Linked DNA regions of Homo sapiens: all the other regions are linked to region 5. The links are contacts of gene promoters, found by promoter capture Hi-C in blood cells and fetal thymus (Javierre and others, 2016). All regions are on one chromosome and are shown on one strand. The core of a region is centred on a gene start or on the middle of the fragment in contact, and the rest is flanking DNA. Distances in the headings are between cores, read along the strand shown.

What was found. Contacts are between HindIII fragments. The CHiCAGO score rates a contact against its expected background, and 5 or more counts as called.
Region 1: a fragment that was not itself captured here is called in contact with the fragment with the promoter of IRF2BP2 in region 5 in 1 of 17 cell types (monocytes); the score reaches 5.4 in monocytes.
Region 2: a fragment that was not itself captured here is called in contact with the fragment with the promoter of IRF2BP2 in region 5 in 11 of 17 cell types (M2 macrophages, M0 macrophages, M1 macrophages and 8 more); the score reaches 20.4 in M2 macrophages.
Region 3: a contact is called between a fragment that was not itself captured here and the fragment with the promoter of IRF2BP2 in region 5, in 2 of 17 cell types (total CD8 T cells and naive CD8 T cells). The highest score is 9.9, in total CD8 T cells.
Region 4: a fragment that was not itself captured here is called in contact with the fragment with the promoter of IRF2BP2 in region 5 in 11 of 17 cell types (erythroblasts, megakaryocytes, activated CD4 T cells and 8 more); the score reaches 8.5 in erythroblasts.

Annotation. Positions count from the first base shown.
Region 1 is chr1:234,781,701-234,784,451 of GRCh38, reverse strand. All of the region lies in intron 1 of LOC124904557 (a long non-coding RNA gene), which reads left to right. Among named protein-coding and RNA genes, the nearest start is that of LINC02961, 23 kb to the right of the region's middle. The HindIII fragment of the contact is 5,487 bases long and covers 1-2,751 here.
Region 2 is chr1:234,850,940-234,853,718 of GRCh38, reverse strand. The region is part of intron 2 of LOC107985365 (a long non-coding RNA gene); the gene reads left to right. Among named protein-coding and RNA genes, the nearest start is that of LINC02961, 92 kb to the right of the region's middle. RefSeq lists an enhancer at 1,883-2,177. The HindIII fragment of the contact is 4,019 bases long and covers 1-2,779 here.
Region 3 is chr1:234,759,878-234,762,693 of GRCh38, reverse strand. All of the region lies in intron 1 of LOC107985364 (a long non-coding RNA gene), which reads right to left. LINC02961 (long intergenic non-protein coding RNA 2961) reads left to right here and starts at 2,638. Exons shown (of 1, transcript NR_148962.1): 1 at 2,638-2,816. RefSeq lists enhancers at 959-1,536, 1,537-2,116. The HindIII fragment of the contact is 3,834 bases long and covers 1-2,816 here.
Region 4 is chr1:234,740,156-234,742,945 of GRCh38, reverse strand. No RefSeq gene overlaps it. Among named protein-coding and RNA genes, the nearest start is that of LINC01132, 18 kb to the right of the region's middle. The HindIII fragment of the contact is 555 bases long and covers 1,090-1,644 here.
Region 5 is chr1:234,608,928-234,611,627 of GRCh38, reverse strand. IRF2BP2 (interferon regulatory factor 2 binding protein 2) reads left to right here and starts at 1,450. Exons shown (of 2, transcript NM_182972.3): 1 at 1,450-2,700. The coding sequence starts at 2,134. RefSeq lists silencers at 226-825, 1,306-1,495, 1,556-1,655, 2,036-2,115, 2,356-2,635 and enhancers at 1,076-1,175, 1,278-1,975. The HindIII fragment of the contact is 9,061 bases long and covers 1-2,700 here.

The DNA of each region.
Region 1 (2,751 bases), core at 166-2,665, 170 kb before region 5:
TGTGCTTCAAAAGCAATTTTGTTTAAATGGCTTCTTCCCCTTACTCCTAATCCTTGGGAAGCTGTAATACACAGGTGGTAAAGGGGACTCCCCAAGAGATGCTCACTAGGACTGCTGTGAGCCAGATACTGGGCTGACACTGCATAGCACCGAGGGTGTGGGAGACCAGAAGTCAGGAGCCTGCATTCTCAGGGGAGGGACTGGATCCCTGCAAGGAAACAAAGTGTGGTGTGTGTGGCTTCATGATCCACTGGCCTAGGTCTAATAGCGGATCTTTTTGCAAATTTATTTTTTTCTTTTCTTTTCTTTTCTTTCTTTTCTTTTCTTTTTTCTTTTCTTTTCTTTTCTTTTCTTTTCTTTTCTTTTCTTTCTTCCTTCCTTCCTTCCTTCTTTCCTTCCTTCCCTTCTTTTTTCTTTCTTTCTTTCCTTGCTTTTTTTTTTTTTTTGATGGAGTTTTGGTCTTGTCACCCAGGCTGGAGTGCAGTGGTGTGATCTTGGCTCACTGCAACCTCTGCCTCCCGGGTTCAAGCGATTCTCCTGTCTCAGTCTCCTGAGTAGTGGGGACTACAGGCAGGCAACACCAAGCCTGGCTAATTTTGTATATTTGGTAGAGACAGGGTTTCACCATGTTGGCCAGGCTGGTCTCAAACTCCTGACTTCAGGTGATCCTGACCTTGGCTTCCCAAAGTGCTAGGATTCCAGGCGTGAGCCACCGCACCTGGCTTGCAAATTTCTATTTCTAATTGAGCCAGCATTTCTTCCCAAAGGTTCACTGGAAAATCACTGACATGAAGAAGATTGATTAATAGGAAAAAAGGCATACACATTTATTTAATGTGTATACACAGGAGCCTTCAGAATGAAGACCCAAAGATAGAGGGGAAATTGTCCACTTTTACACTTAGGTTCAAGACAGTATGGATAGTCACATAGAAATATGACTGGACAAAAAGGGTCTGATGGAATGCTAGACTAGACTGAGTAGAAAGCGCAGCAAGGCCTGTCTGCCTAGATTCTTCCAGGCATCCATGCCGCATTCCTTCCTTCTGGGTATGGGACAGGATCCTTTCTGGAGTGGGGGTCTTATGACCTACAGTCAAATAAGATAGGTTAGATGAGGTCTTTATGGCCAGTTTTTACACAGAAAGGTGGAAGGAAAGCTAGAGTTGTATTTTAGGTTTTATGGCTGGCTTTGGGGAAAAGGGGTTCTGGTTTTTATATCCGCCTTGGGGAAGAGGGATTCTGGTTTCTATGGCTGGCCTCGGGGAGAATGAGGGGCAAGAGATAGGAGGGCAGGAGAAGATCAGAGAAAAACTTTTGCTTCTGAGGCTAAGCCTTCCTTTTGGGGTATTGTTTTCTGAGTCCCAACACTTGTTATTTGGAACAACTCATTAGAATGTAGGGACTGGGGCTATGTCATGTATTAACATCTCCCAGGGAGCTGTCAGCCTCCCTCAGCAAATGCTTCCTGAATGCATGAATGAACCAATGAGTGTTGGCCATGCAAAGTCAGTAGTTTTCTGCCAACCCCATGAGTTCCACCAGTCGTCTCCAGAGATTCCTTGCAAAGAACTTGGTACTGGGGCATGTACTTATAATGTCTCCTTCTTTTTCCTTCTATTCTATCATCCTGTGTCTTGTCCAGCCTCCAGGAGTTCAGTGAGAAAGGAAACACACACACACACACTACAAAAACCAGGAGAAAAAAACCATTAAAAAATCCCACTGTAGGAAGATTCTGCTGCCTCTAGACTTTAGGAAAGCCGCTGACCTAATTCATTTGCTATGGTGGCTTTTTCATCCTCAGGACTGGTGCTGCCTGTGTAGTTCAGCCTGTGAAGGCTCCCTTTCAAGTAGGCCAGCTGCATGGTATTCTGGACTTACAATGTGCAGGGCAGATGTAGTGTCCCCTTGAAATACACTTAACGGTGGGCAACAAAATCCAAAAGCAAACCCCCACAAATATCTAACTTAAAAAAAAAGAACTTTCTAGATCTCAGTCCTCATCTGGATACTTCATTAGGATCCTGAGACATCTGGGGACCAGCGATGGAAAGAAGGAAAGAGACTTCCATATGTTGAGAGCCTATTATATGCCTGCATTGTGCTAAGCCCTTTCCCATATGTTATCCAATGTAATCCCCCACAAAAGCCCTGCCAGAGTGGAATTATTCTTCTCATTTTACAAATAAGAAAACAGTAGCTCGGAGATGCTAAGTTACTCGCCCAAGGTCACATAGACGGTAAGTGGTAGATGCTGATTTGAATCCAGACAGTGTCATTATCAAGGGGTGGTTTGGGAGGCTTTCGTTGTAACCATCATCTGTAGCAGCCCCCTTCTCCACAATTATCCCAAATAAACACACAATCTAAGTCGGAAGAGCCTACAGGAGGCAAAAATGTAGCTTCAATATGTGCTTCCCTGTCATCTCCCTTTCATTGAGATTATTGCTGCCCCAAATCCTGTCTACACAGACATTCTGGAGTCCGTACTAAATCAAGATTTGTCTGGCTGCAAAGACCATGTTCTGTCCAACACAACCAGGATGCCTCTTCTCTTAGATTCCTACCAAGAAGACCTTGCTTCTTGAAACCCTTACCTAGAAGAGCCAATGAATCAGTGTAGGATTTCCCTAATGGTGGCTGGCACCATAGGTTCCAAAATGTCACCACCAGCTCTAAGTCATCAGCCCTTTAAACGCCTCCACACATCCCGGGGTATACTGACGCGAGGAGTCACAGTGGGTAAGC
Region 2 (2,779 bases), core at 14-2,513, 240 kb before region 5:
CAGGGCTTTAAGCACCCTTAAATCAGATTTGCTCTTTTATAATTGTTTTGTCAAAGGGACTTCTCTGCTTTCATTCTCAGCCACCTCTGTCTTTGTCAAGTGGCTCACGCCTGTAATCCCAGCATTTTGGGAGGCCAATGCAGGTGGATCAGGAGGTTAGGAGTTGAAGACCAGCCTGGCCAATATGGTGAAACCCCATCTCTACTAAAAATAAAAAATTAGCCGGGCGTGGTGGTGTGCGCCTGTAGTCCCAGCTAGTCAGGAGGCTGAGGGAGAAGATATACTTGAACCTGGGAGGTGGAGCTTGCAGTGAGCTGCACTCCAGCCTGAGCAACAAAGTGAGACTCCGTTCCCCCCAAAAAATTTTACTGATGAAACTTGGGCCAAAGGCTTGGGCATGGACTTCCCAGGGTAGGGAAAGAGGGAACAGGCAGGGTTATATTTACTCTTATTTCCCTTGTTAAGGCAAGGATGCTTAATTTTAGTGGTGATGACGATAAAAATGATGTTAACTAGCATTCACTGAACATTTGTTACGTGCTTGGCATGGTACTAAGCACTTTGCGTGCATTATCTCACACAATTCTCCCAACAGCTCTACAAAATACACTCTATTCCCCCACCCCGAATTTTATATATGAAGGTGTGAAAGGAAAATAAATCTCAGGACCGCAAAATCACTAATCCAAGGGAAAAGTCAAGCCGGGAACTGCGTCAGGCAAACCTGCCTCCCATTCTATTCCTAAATAAGATAGCTACAAAGATAAAAAAGCTACAGATCCCTTTCACAATTTGCCCACCAGGAAATTCCTTGTGGTCTGCAAGATCTTTACCCTAAAATGGTTCTGTTGAATTACCTGACAATGTAAATGGATAGCTTATCTTCATGGGTGCAGGACAAAGGACAGAACTCAAAGTCATCCCTCTGCTCACCTGAGACAAAAGCATATCTGATTGTTTTTTTCTGATGTAAAAATGAAGGCATAAGTGAATATTCCTCCACCCCCTCACATGTAAATTGTCTATTTAATGAAAAGCTGAACAAAGACTCAAAAGAATGCAAAGTTTGTCTCTTACCTACCCACACCTTTAAAAAATTTCTTCCTTTTCTTCCAATATCTGCCCTTTCCCCTTTAAATAAGCCTTCAAAATCATCTTTGGAGAAAGGCACAGACCTTCCTCCAGGGCATGTGTCCTTAACCTTGGTAAAATAAACTTCCTAAATTGGTTGAGATTCCTCTCAGATATTTTTTGGTTTACAGAGCAAACCGAGGTTTAAAGATGCTGCGGTAGCATGCCCAAAGATCTATCTTAACTGGGGACACAGAAGCAGACTCTCAGATGAGGATTTGTGTGCAGGAGATTTGTAAGGAAGGGCTCCCTGGAGGAACCTGGTAAAAGAGTTGGGGAAGCTGGTCTGGGAAGGGGCCAGGGATGATCTCAGAGGGTGGCTTACACCTGATTCTGCAAGCAGGGATGGCTGCAGGGCCGTGCGCCTGTGCAGTCACACGGGCCCCACACTTAGGCCTTACACTTGGGTTGATGCTCTGCTGTTGTTGCTGTCTTGAAATTCTTCATACTGTTTGAACAAGGGATCTGCTTTTTCATTTTGCACTGGGTCTTGCAAATTCTGTAGGGAGTCCTGTCCCCAGGGCAGCTCTAAAGTATAAGTGCCTCAGAGCTGCCCCACCCAAGGCAAGGAGCTGGGGCTGCATGCTCTCATCATCAGCCATTCATTGGTCATCTGTTAAGGGCTGCCCCAGGGGGACATATGTTCCTGCAGGCTATAGGTTCCTTCTCTGTGCAAGCAAAGCAGCTGTACTACTCTGCAGGCAATACTGCTGATAAAGAGCTGCAGGTGATGGCTGTTGAAAGTGAAAACATTCTTAGGGGCCTCAGGATTCAAACCTGGGGCTGGAGTTTCTAACCCCTCTTCCTGCCAGAGGTCATGTGCTTCCCTGCCCTGCAGTGACGGTGGCTTCAGTTCCGCTATGAGTCCTGGAGTCCTCGGGCTCCTCCTTCCCTTCTTTTTGTCCACTGCTTCTGATTGTGGATAAAAGGGGAAGTGAAAGAATGATAAGGAAGATTGGGCAGTGGTGCAAACTGCTAGGAAAACCATGATTCACCTTCCTGGAGACAGTCCCTCTGGCCTGGGTGGGCCACCCACCGATCCATGATGATGTCGCCATGCCAATCATGCCAGTTCAGCCTTCCCTTCAGATGTGTAGTCCTCAAGTGTTTTCTAACAAAACACACATATATATGTTTTTCTACTTTGTCATCTCCTGTGAATTTCTAAGAAAATGTAATTCTTTTTTTTTTTTTTTGGACAGGGTTTTGCTCTGTTACCCAGGCTGGAGTGCAGTGGCATGATTGTGGCTCACTGTAGCCTCTGGCTCCTGGGCTCCAGCCATCCTTTGGCTTCAGCCTCCTGAGTACTTGGGACCACAGGTGCACCCAACCACACTTGGCTTTTATTTTAATTAAAAAATTTTTTAAATTATTTACTTATTTATTTATTTTGAGATGGCGTCTGGCTCTATTACCAACACTGGAGTGCAGTGGCACGATCTCAGCTTACTGCAACCTCCACCTCTCAGGTTCAAGCGATTCTTGTGCCTCAGCCTTCCGAGTAGCTGGGATTACAGGTGCATGCTACAACTCTCAGCTAATTTTTGTATTTTTTTGCAGAGACAGGGTTTTGCCATGTTGCCCAGGCTGGTCTCGAGCTCCTGACCTCAGGTGAGCCACTCACCTCAGCCTCTCAAAGTGCTGGGAT
Region 3 (2,816 bases), core at 32-2,531, 150 kb before region 5:
AGGGACAACCTTCAGCCCCCTGTGCTGGCTCTTGTGGCATTTCCACAGGGAGGACAGGGCCTGAGGTCATATCCCAGCATAAACATGTCCTGTGGCCCGTGTCCCCAGAGCCAGGCTGATAGGAAAGTGGAAACAGGATTTACAATGTGTGGTGCCAGAGTCTAGTCTTCGGAGAGTTTTTCAGTTATCAGATGTATAAAATGGTAAGGAGAAGATGCTGTTTCCATTGACACCTAGTCAAAATGGAAATTCTTTGCTGGCAAGAATGTGCCCGATACAATAGCAAAGACTTGGAACCAACCCAAATGTCCATCAGTGATAGACTGGGTTAAGAAAATGTGGCACATAGACACCATGGAATACTATGCAGCCATAAAAAAGGATGAGTTCATGCCCTTTGTAGGGACATGGATGAAGCTGGAAACCATCATTCTCAGCAAACTATCACAAGGACAAAAAACCAAGCACCACATGTTCTCACTCATAGGTGGGAATCGAACAATGAGAACACCTGGACACAGGGTGGGGAACATCACACACCGGGGCCTGTTGTGGGGTCGGGGGAGGGATAGCATTAGGAGATATACCTAATGTAAATGACGAGTTAATGGGTGCAGCACACCAACATAGCACATGTACACATATGTAACAAACCTGCACGTTGTGCACATGTACCCTAGAACTTAAAGTATAATAAAAAAACAATAAAATAAATAAAAATAAAAATAATTGGCCGATTCTTCTATAATTGTTGGTGCTAAAATGACCAGACCAAATAAATTAGTTCACTTCAGTAACCTTAAAAAAAAAAAAAGGAATGTGCCCGATAATGCAGACGATACAATTACGAGTGCATGGAACAGACTTCGGGAGGCGAGGAGGCGATAGGGCGGCCCGAGGCTGATTGAGACACTGGTGGCTGTGGAACGCTTAGAGGGGTTGTTGCTGTGTGGTTGTGAGTGTGCATGCCTTTGTGTTGGAACACACCATCCTAACATTTTGTGTGTGTGTGTGTTCATGCTATACTACATACATATGTAGTATGCTATACTACATACATATAGAGTATGCTATACTACATACATATAGAGTATGCTATATTACACACATATAGTTATGATTATCTAGTTGCATAACATACTAAACTGTTATGAATCATAGTCCACAACAACGAAGAAGTCAAAGGAAGCCCAGTGGCTTGTTTGTCACAGAAAGTGTAGAATTTGGGATTTTCATTTCAATCCATTGACAAGCAGGGTTTCCATGCCCTGTGTGCACAGTTCAAGGAACAGTTTGCTCTTACCTGGGTATCAGGAAGGGGCTCCTAGCCAGGGCAATCAGAGAGTCACTCTTGCTGACTGCCCCAGCTGACAGCCCTTCTCCTGCCCCAGTAATGTCTGGCGAACCATGAGACAGGGGAACAGGAATGGGTTTGCTCAGAACTCTTGAAAGAGGCCATGGGACTTGGGCACACCCAAAGGAGCAAGAAGCAAGCAGCACCCAAAATACGCATTGACCCAAAGGCCGATCTTCTGACACATCCACACACGTCTCATCACACATGCAGGGAAACCGTGTCATGTCCGAACTCCAGAACTCCAAACCTCTCATAGTAGTCAGGAGAACACTGGGATGAGTTTAGCTTTTGAGAACTATAAATGTGCCCAAGTGTTGGTTTGGCTAGCAGACTGGAAAATTCTTAGGGTTAAAATTCAAATAAGAATAATATAGCATTGCTAGTCATGACTACAGTATTTACTTAAATTATGCTCTCAGATCTCTATGAAGACAATCCAAAACATAATTAATACTTTTTTTTTTCGCTACAGAGGATAAGTTTTGATTGTACACACACACACACACACACACACATACACACACGATAATATCTATACATATATTTGCCATGCAGAAGTAATGGAAAAGTGAAGGGTATTCCCGAGTTGGCAGCAAATGCCCAGAGTGGGTGAAACTGATGCCCGTGCTCTAGGCCCGGGGAGCCTCTGAGCAACCTGCACTGTGGTGCCCTGGCCTGAGCGTGTGCTCAAAGGCCTGCTCCGCCTCTCCATGACCTAGTAAAGCATGGTGGCCTCCTCCCTTCCTGCCCAAAGCATTAGAATGTCAAGCTCCAGTCCTTGAATGCCATTCTCTCCCTTCCCCCTCAATCCTCCCAGCTCCCCCTCCCCCACTTCCTGTTTGTTTTAAAGAATGGGCACCCAGCATTCCCCCTGCTTCTCATTGGGAAGGAAGGCAGAGGCACGGGAGAGATCTGGGTGGTTGTGGAACAGGAATGGAACTTCAACAGAGTAATGAGGCAGGAAGGGAAAGGGCATGTTGGGGGGTGCAAGAGCTGGGACTTGATAATCTCTGTGAGTCCTGGAAAGAAGAGCGTTTGCTTTGAGGGGTGATTGCCTTTCATGGACTTCTTGGGGGTGGCGGCCTTTTGATCTGCGATGCTGCTCCGTCCAGCCCTGGGCACAGAGTTAGCCATTTCTCCAGTGCATGCAGCTTCTGCACTGGATCAGCGCAGAACCTCGGGAAGGAGGGTGAGGGCTCTAATACTGGAATGCCCTGGAAAACCACCAGGAATCTTGGTATCCTGTAACCGTCTTTCTCCAGGGCCTGGGATCCCTCATCGGCGTCTGGACACCCTTCATCTTTTAGCCGTTGCCCTGTTCTTGGTGAACTGCTTGTTAGGACCAAAAGTGGCCCACCCCTTTCTCTGGGACAGTGCAGAGCACCGGGGCCAGAGGCTCAAAGCACCTCCAAGCTGAGATCAGAGACTTTGGATATCGTTGATCCAGAGGCTTCCAAAC
Region 4 (2,790 bases), core at 118-2,617, 130 kb before region 5:
TGAACTTTCTGAACTTGGCTCAGAATGAGGTGGTGAAGCTTATTTCCAACGTCTTTGTGATTATTTCATACTTGACACCTCACATCCCTGGCTGGAGATCTCCCAAGATCTGAATTGACGGGTTTCATTTCCATGCATCTCAAAGTAGACATACTAAACGGAAGTGCACGGGGTGGCTTGGGCTCAGAGAGGACGGGCTGCGGGCGGTGACCTACCTAAAATTCTTGCTCCAATTATTGAAATATAGCCACGTCGTTTTTCTGAGACTTGTGATAATTAGCCAAGAAATTTGCTGACACTTAAAAGTAAATTTGGTATGAGCAGGTATTACAGAAAAACAATTCTACTGCCCATTCCTTCTTTTTTTTTTTTTTTTTTTGAGACTGAGTCTCGCTCCGTTCTGTTGCCCAGGCTGGAGTGCAGTGGCCTGATCTTGGCTCACTGCAAGCTCCGCCTCCCGGTTCACGCCATTCGCCTGCCTCAGCCTCCCGAGTGGCTGGGACTATAGGCGCCCGTCACTACGCCTGGCTAATTTTTTGTTATTTTTAGTAGAGACGGGGTTTCACCGTGTTAGCCACGATGGTGTCGATCTTCTGACCTCATGATCCGCCTGCATCGGCCTCCCAAAGTGCTGGGATTACAGGCGAGATCCACCGCGCCCAGCCTCTACTGCCCATTCCTTCTTAATTCACAGAAGAATTACCGATAATCTACTTTTTGGCTCTCTGGTTAATTTCTGGTTAACTGTTAAGTACCAAGAGTTTTGGTAACCTAATGTGAAATTAATCAAGCTTTTTATTTCCAGGCCTGTATGTGAGATTTGACTTGTCCTTCCAGATAAGGTATTTACGTTCATTTTAACATAGGTTTCTTTGCATGTATTTACCCAGTCCTTGATTATCTGGAACAAAAATTACTAATCCTATACTGGCTTCCTCTCTTGCTTCTGGGTGACTTCCCTCCTTTCTCCTGCCCATCCCAGTCAGGAATTTCTGTGGTACTGAATATACCATGGCACTTATTCCATGACGTGTCTTACGGGAAACAAGAAGATTGATACCCATTTTTGTTGCCCTGATGAATGAAGCTTACATCTGAAATCTCTTTTTAAAAATTTTTTAAACATTTTTTATTTTAATGCTTCAAATTTTTTATGGTAACATGGGCTGAAACACCTGAAATCTTGTCTTACTTGTTTACAGATGTTCTAAAATATTTCCGATACTCATAATAGATCCAAGGACTTTCTTGACATCTCCAGGAAGCTAATGAACATCTGCAACTCAACATGCCCGAAACTGGGCTCCCTATTCCCCTAGGCTGCCTCCCACCAAACCTGTTCCAGCCACAGCCTTCCTATCTCAGCTGGGAGCATTTCATTCTCCTAGTGGCTCAGGCCCCAAACCTCAGAGTCATCCTTGACTTCTTTCTTTTTTACTCCACATCCAAACTGTCAGGAAATCCCACTTATTCCCACAAAATATATCCAGCTCCACTGTTGTCACTCTGAGCCACTGCCATTTTTTGCCCCTGGATGACAACTGTGACCTCCGATAGGTCTGCATCTACCTTCAACCCACCAGCCAGAGTGATTCTTTGCAAATGTAAGGTAGTGCTACACCTGCTCGGGACCCTACAGAAGCTTCTGGCTCACCCAGAGAAGAGCAGAAATCATTACACCCACCTCCACCATCTCTCCAATCTTATGACCTACCACCTGCCCAGTTTGACTCCAGTTCAGCAGTACTGGCCTCCTTGCGATTCCTCCAAAAAGCCAGACATGCTACCACTGTAGGGCCTTTGCCCTACTTCTTTCTCTCTTTCTTTCTCTCTTTCTTTCTTTCTTTCTTTCTTTCTTTCTTTCTTTCTTTCTTTCTCTCTCTTTCTTTCTCTCTTTCTTCCTTTCTCTCTTTCTTCCTTTCTTTTTCTTTCTTTTTCTCTTTCTCTCTTTCTTTCTCTTTCTTCTTCCTTCCTTTCCTTTTTTTTTTTTTTTTTTTAGTGCAGTTTTGCTCTTGTCGCTCAGGCTGGAGTGCAATGGTCTGATCTCGGCTCACTGTAACCCCCGCCTCCCAGGTTCAAGTGGTTCTCCTGCCTCAGCCTCCCAAGTACCTGGGATTATAGGCATGCACCACCACTCTTAGCTAATTTTGTATTTTTAGTAGAGATGGGGTTTCGCCATGTTGGCCAGGCTGGTCTTGAGCTCCTGACCTCAGGTGATCCACCTGCCTCAGCCTCCCAAAGTGCTGGGATTACAGGTGTGAGCCACCGCGCCTTGACCCTACTTGTTCTTTCTGTCTGCAACATTCTTCGCCCTGATAGGGCTCTGGCCACTCCTCCCCTCCCAGTGCCTGCTCAGACCTCACTGCTCAATGCCCACCCTGACCTTTGTTGAACTTACCTGCAATACTGACCCCATCTGCTTGGCCTTAGCATCCCTGGTCTCCCTTCTCTCACTCTGTTTTTTGTTTGTTTATGTTCTTTTTTTTTGTTTTGAGATGGAGTCTCGCTCTGTTGCCCAGGCTGGAGTGCAGTGGCGTGATCTCGGCTCACTGCAAGCTCCACCTCCCGGCTTCACGCCATTCTCCTGCCTCAGCCTACCAAGTAGCTGGAACTACAGGCGTGTGCCACCACACCTGCCTAAGTTTTTGTATTTTTTAGTATAGACAGGGTTTCACCGGGTTAGTCAGGTTGGTGTCAATCTCCTGACCTCTTGATCCACCTGCCTCAGCCTCCCAGAGTGCTGGGATTACAGGCGTGAGCTACCGCGCCCGGCCTGTTTGTTTATTTTCT
Region 5 (2,700 bases), core at 201-2,700:
TGTAGGAAAGATAATATAATTAGTACCCTGTTCTTCCCACACTTAACCAGCTCATTCCAGTCTCAAGGGAGAGTTGTGGGCCTGTGTTCCCAACAAAAGCAGCTCCAGAGGCCGCCCTTAAAGAGCTTAAGTGTAAAAGTCCCAATTGAAGAGCGACTAAGCCTACGTGTATTAGGGAGACTAACGACCAGCCCAAAGTGATTTACCATAACACACACTAGCTCCTCCTCCCGATAAAAGTGCGAAACTCAAACATTCAATTCAGTCTGGGCTGAGTCTGAGGCTGCCAACGGTGGCAGACCTGCAGGCCGGGCTCATCCCGGCCTGGGTGGCATATAGGGCAAAAGTCCGCCTCCGTCGGCGGCCCGCCCTGCGGGACGGCGGGCCAGCCAGCCAGCCGGTCGCCCCCACGGCCCTCGGGAACCTCGCGGAGGCGAGCAGGACCCCCCCCCCCCCCACTCGCGCCCTCGCCTCCCGCCACCTCGAGTCCAAGTTCGGGCCCGGGGGCGGCGCCTCGACGCCCAGACTCGCCGAAGGGGGTGGAGCCTGCGCTGTGACGCGGCCGCGCTGGCCGTAGACCCCGGATCCCTGGAATGTGCATTCGTTCCACGAGGCCCTAGTGCCAGCGGCGCCGAGGCACGTCTGCGCGGAGCGTGCGCACTCGCGGCGGCGGCCGCCCACGGCCCCGCGCCCACGTCACGCGCCCGCCGCGCATACCTACATAAGGCAGCCGGGGCGACTGGCGCGGCGAGGCCCCCGATGAACAGGGCGGGCTGGACGGGGCTAAGAGCGGCACTTGGTGTTCGGGAGAGGCTAGTCCGAACCGCGCTCCCTCCCCTCCAGAGGGCTCCGTGGAAAACGCGCGAGCCAGCTGGCGGCGTGTGCACGTGGTGCTGGGCTTGGGAATATTCACAGTCTCCCTAGTTAGTAAAAGGGACAGGCGGGGCGTATGTCCTTTCCAAGACAAATGCAAAGCACCAGTGACGGATTTCATGCTATGTGTCCGACATTGAGCTTTCAAGTATAACTCCTAAAAAACCAGAACTGTGAACCACGCTAGACCTAAATTCCCCATTCTCAGGAGACTGACGGAAACCAAGTGACAAAGTGTCCTTGCATAAAAGAAAAAAAATGATTTTTAGCACGATTTGGCCCAGAGGCACACCAGAGGAAAACATCCTGAGGGTGGTCGGGACAGCCGGGTGGGGCGCGAAGTGAGGGAAAGTGGAGGAAAAGCACTCGATCACTTTGCGCGGTGTTCCGAAGGGAACACCGGCGCTGCGCTGCTGCGCTGCCCCGCGGGCGGGCGGGCGCCGCGTAGCCGGCTCTCCCGGCAGCGCTCCTTCGGCGCGCGGGGGGAGGGGGAGCGCGCGCGCGGGAGGGCGGGCACGCGCACGAGGGGAGGGGGCCCGCGCAGGCGCCGTGCGAGACTGTCGAAGAATCAAGTCTGTAGAAGTGGAGCGGTCGCGGCGGCAGCAGCAGCAGCGACGGTGGCGGCGGCGGAGCTGAGGCGGGCTGGCCGCTGACGCTGGCGCTGGAGAGCGGCGACGCCAGGAGCTGTGAGAGAGCGGCGGAGCGACCCGGGGCCCGCGCCGCGCCCGAGCTCCACGCCGCCCGGCCGCCGCCACCCCGGCGCGGCATGCCCCGCCGCTCGGGCTGAGCCTGCCCCGGCGGCCGCCCCCCGCCCCCTGCCCCCCCGGCCTCCCCGCCCCCCGCCCCGCACTCCGTGCCGGCCGCCGCCGCGACCTGCTGCGCTCCCCCGCGCCCGCGCGGCCCGTCTTCGCCCCGGTCTGGAGGCCCGCCGCGGCTCCGGCCGAGCCCCCACCGCCGCGCCCGCCGCCCCGCCGCGCCGCGCCGCCCGCCCGTGCCCGGGCCGGCCGGGGGGAACTGCTGCCGCGGCTGCAGCCCCTCACCTCGCGCCCGCCGCCCCTCGTGCACCGGGGGCGCTGCGCGGGCGCCGAGCCTTCGCGGGCTTTGCCGCCGCCGCCGCCGCCTTTGCGGCCGCCGCCGCCGCTGGTGGGGGAGACGCGGGGTTGGGGGGGGAGGAGGGCGCGCGTGGTGCCGGTGGGGGGCGGCGGCGGCGCCCCCTCCTCCTCCTCCGCCTCCTCCTCCGGCGTCGCGGGCTCCTCGGACATGGCCGCGGCGGTGGCGGTGGCGGCCGCGTCCCGGCGGCAGTCGTGCTACCTGTGTGACCTGCCCCGCATGCCCTGGGCCATGATCTGGGACTTCACCGAACCCGTCTGCCGCGGCTGCGTCAACTACGAGGGCGCCGACCGCGTCGAGTTCGTCATCGAGACGGCGCGGCAGCTCAAGCGGGCGCACGGCTGCTTCCCGGAGGGTCGCTCCCCACCCGGCGCCGCGGCCTCGGCCGCCGCCAAGCCGCCGCCGCTCTCCGCCAAGGACATCCTTTTGCAGCAGCAGCAGCAGCTTGGCCACGGCGGCCCCGAGGCGGCCCCGCGCGCGCCGCAGGCCTTGGAGCGCTACCCGTTGGCGGCCGCGGCCGAGAGGCCCCCGCGCCTCGGCTCTGACTTCGGCAGCAGCCGCCCGGCAGCGAGCCTGGCCCAGCCGCCGACGCCGCAGCCGCCGCCCGTGAACGGCATCCTGGTGCCCAACGGCTTCTCCAAGCTAGAGGAGCCGCCCGAGCTGAATCGCCAGAGCCCGAACCCGCGGCGCGGCCACGCGGTGCCGCCCACCCTGGTG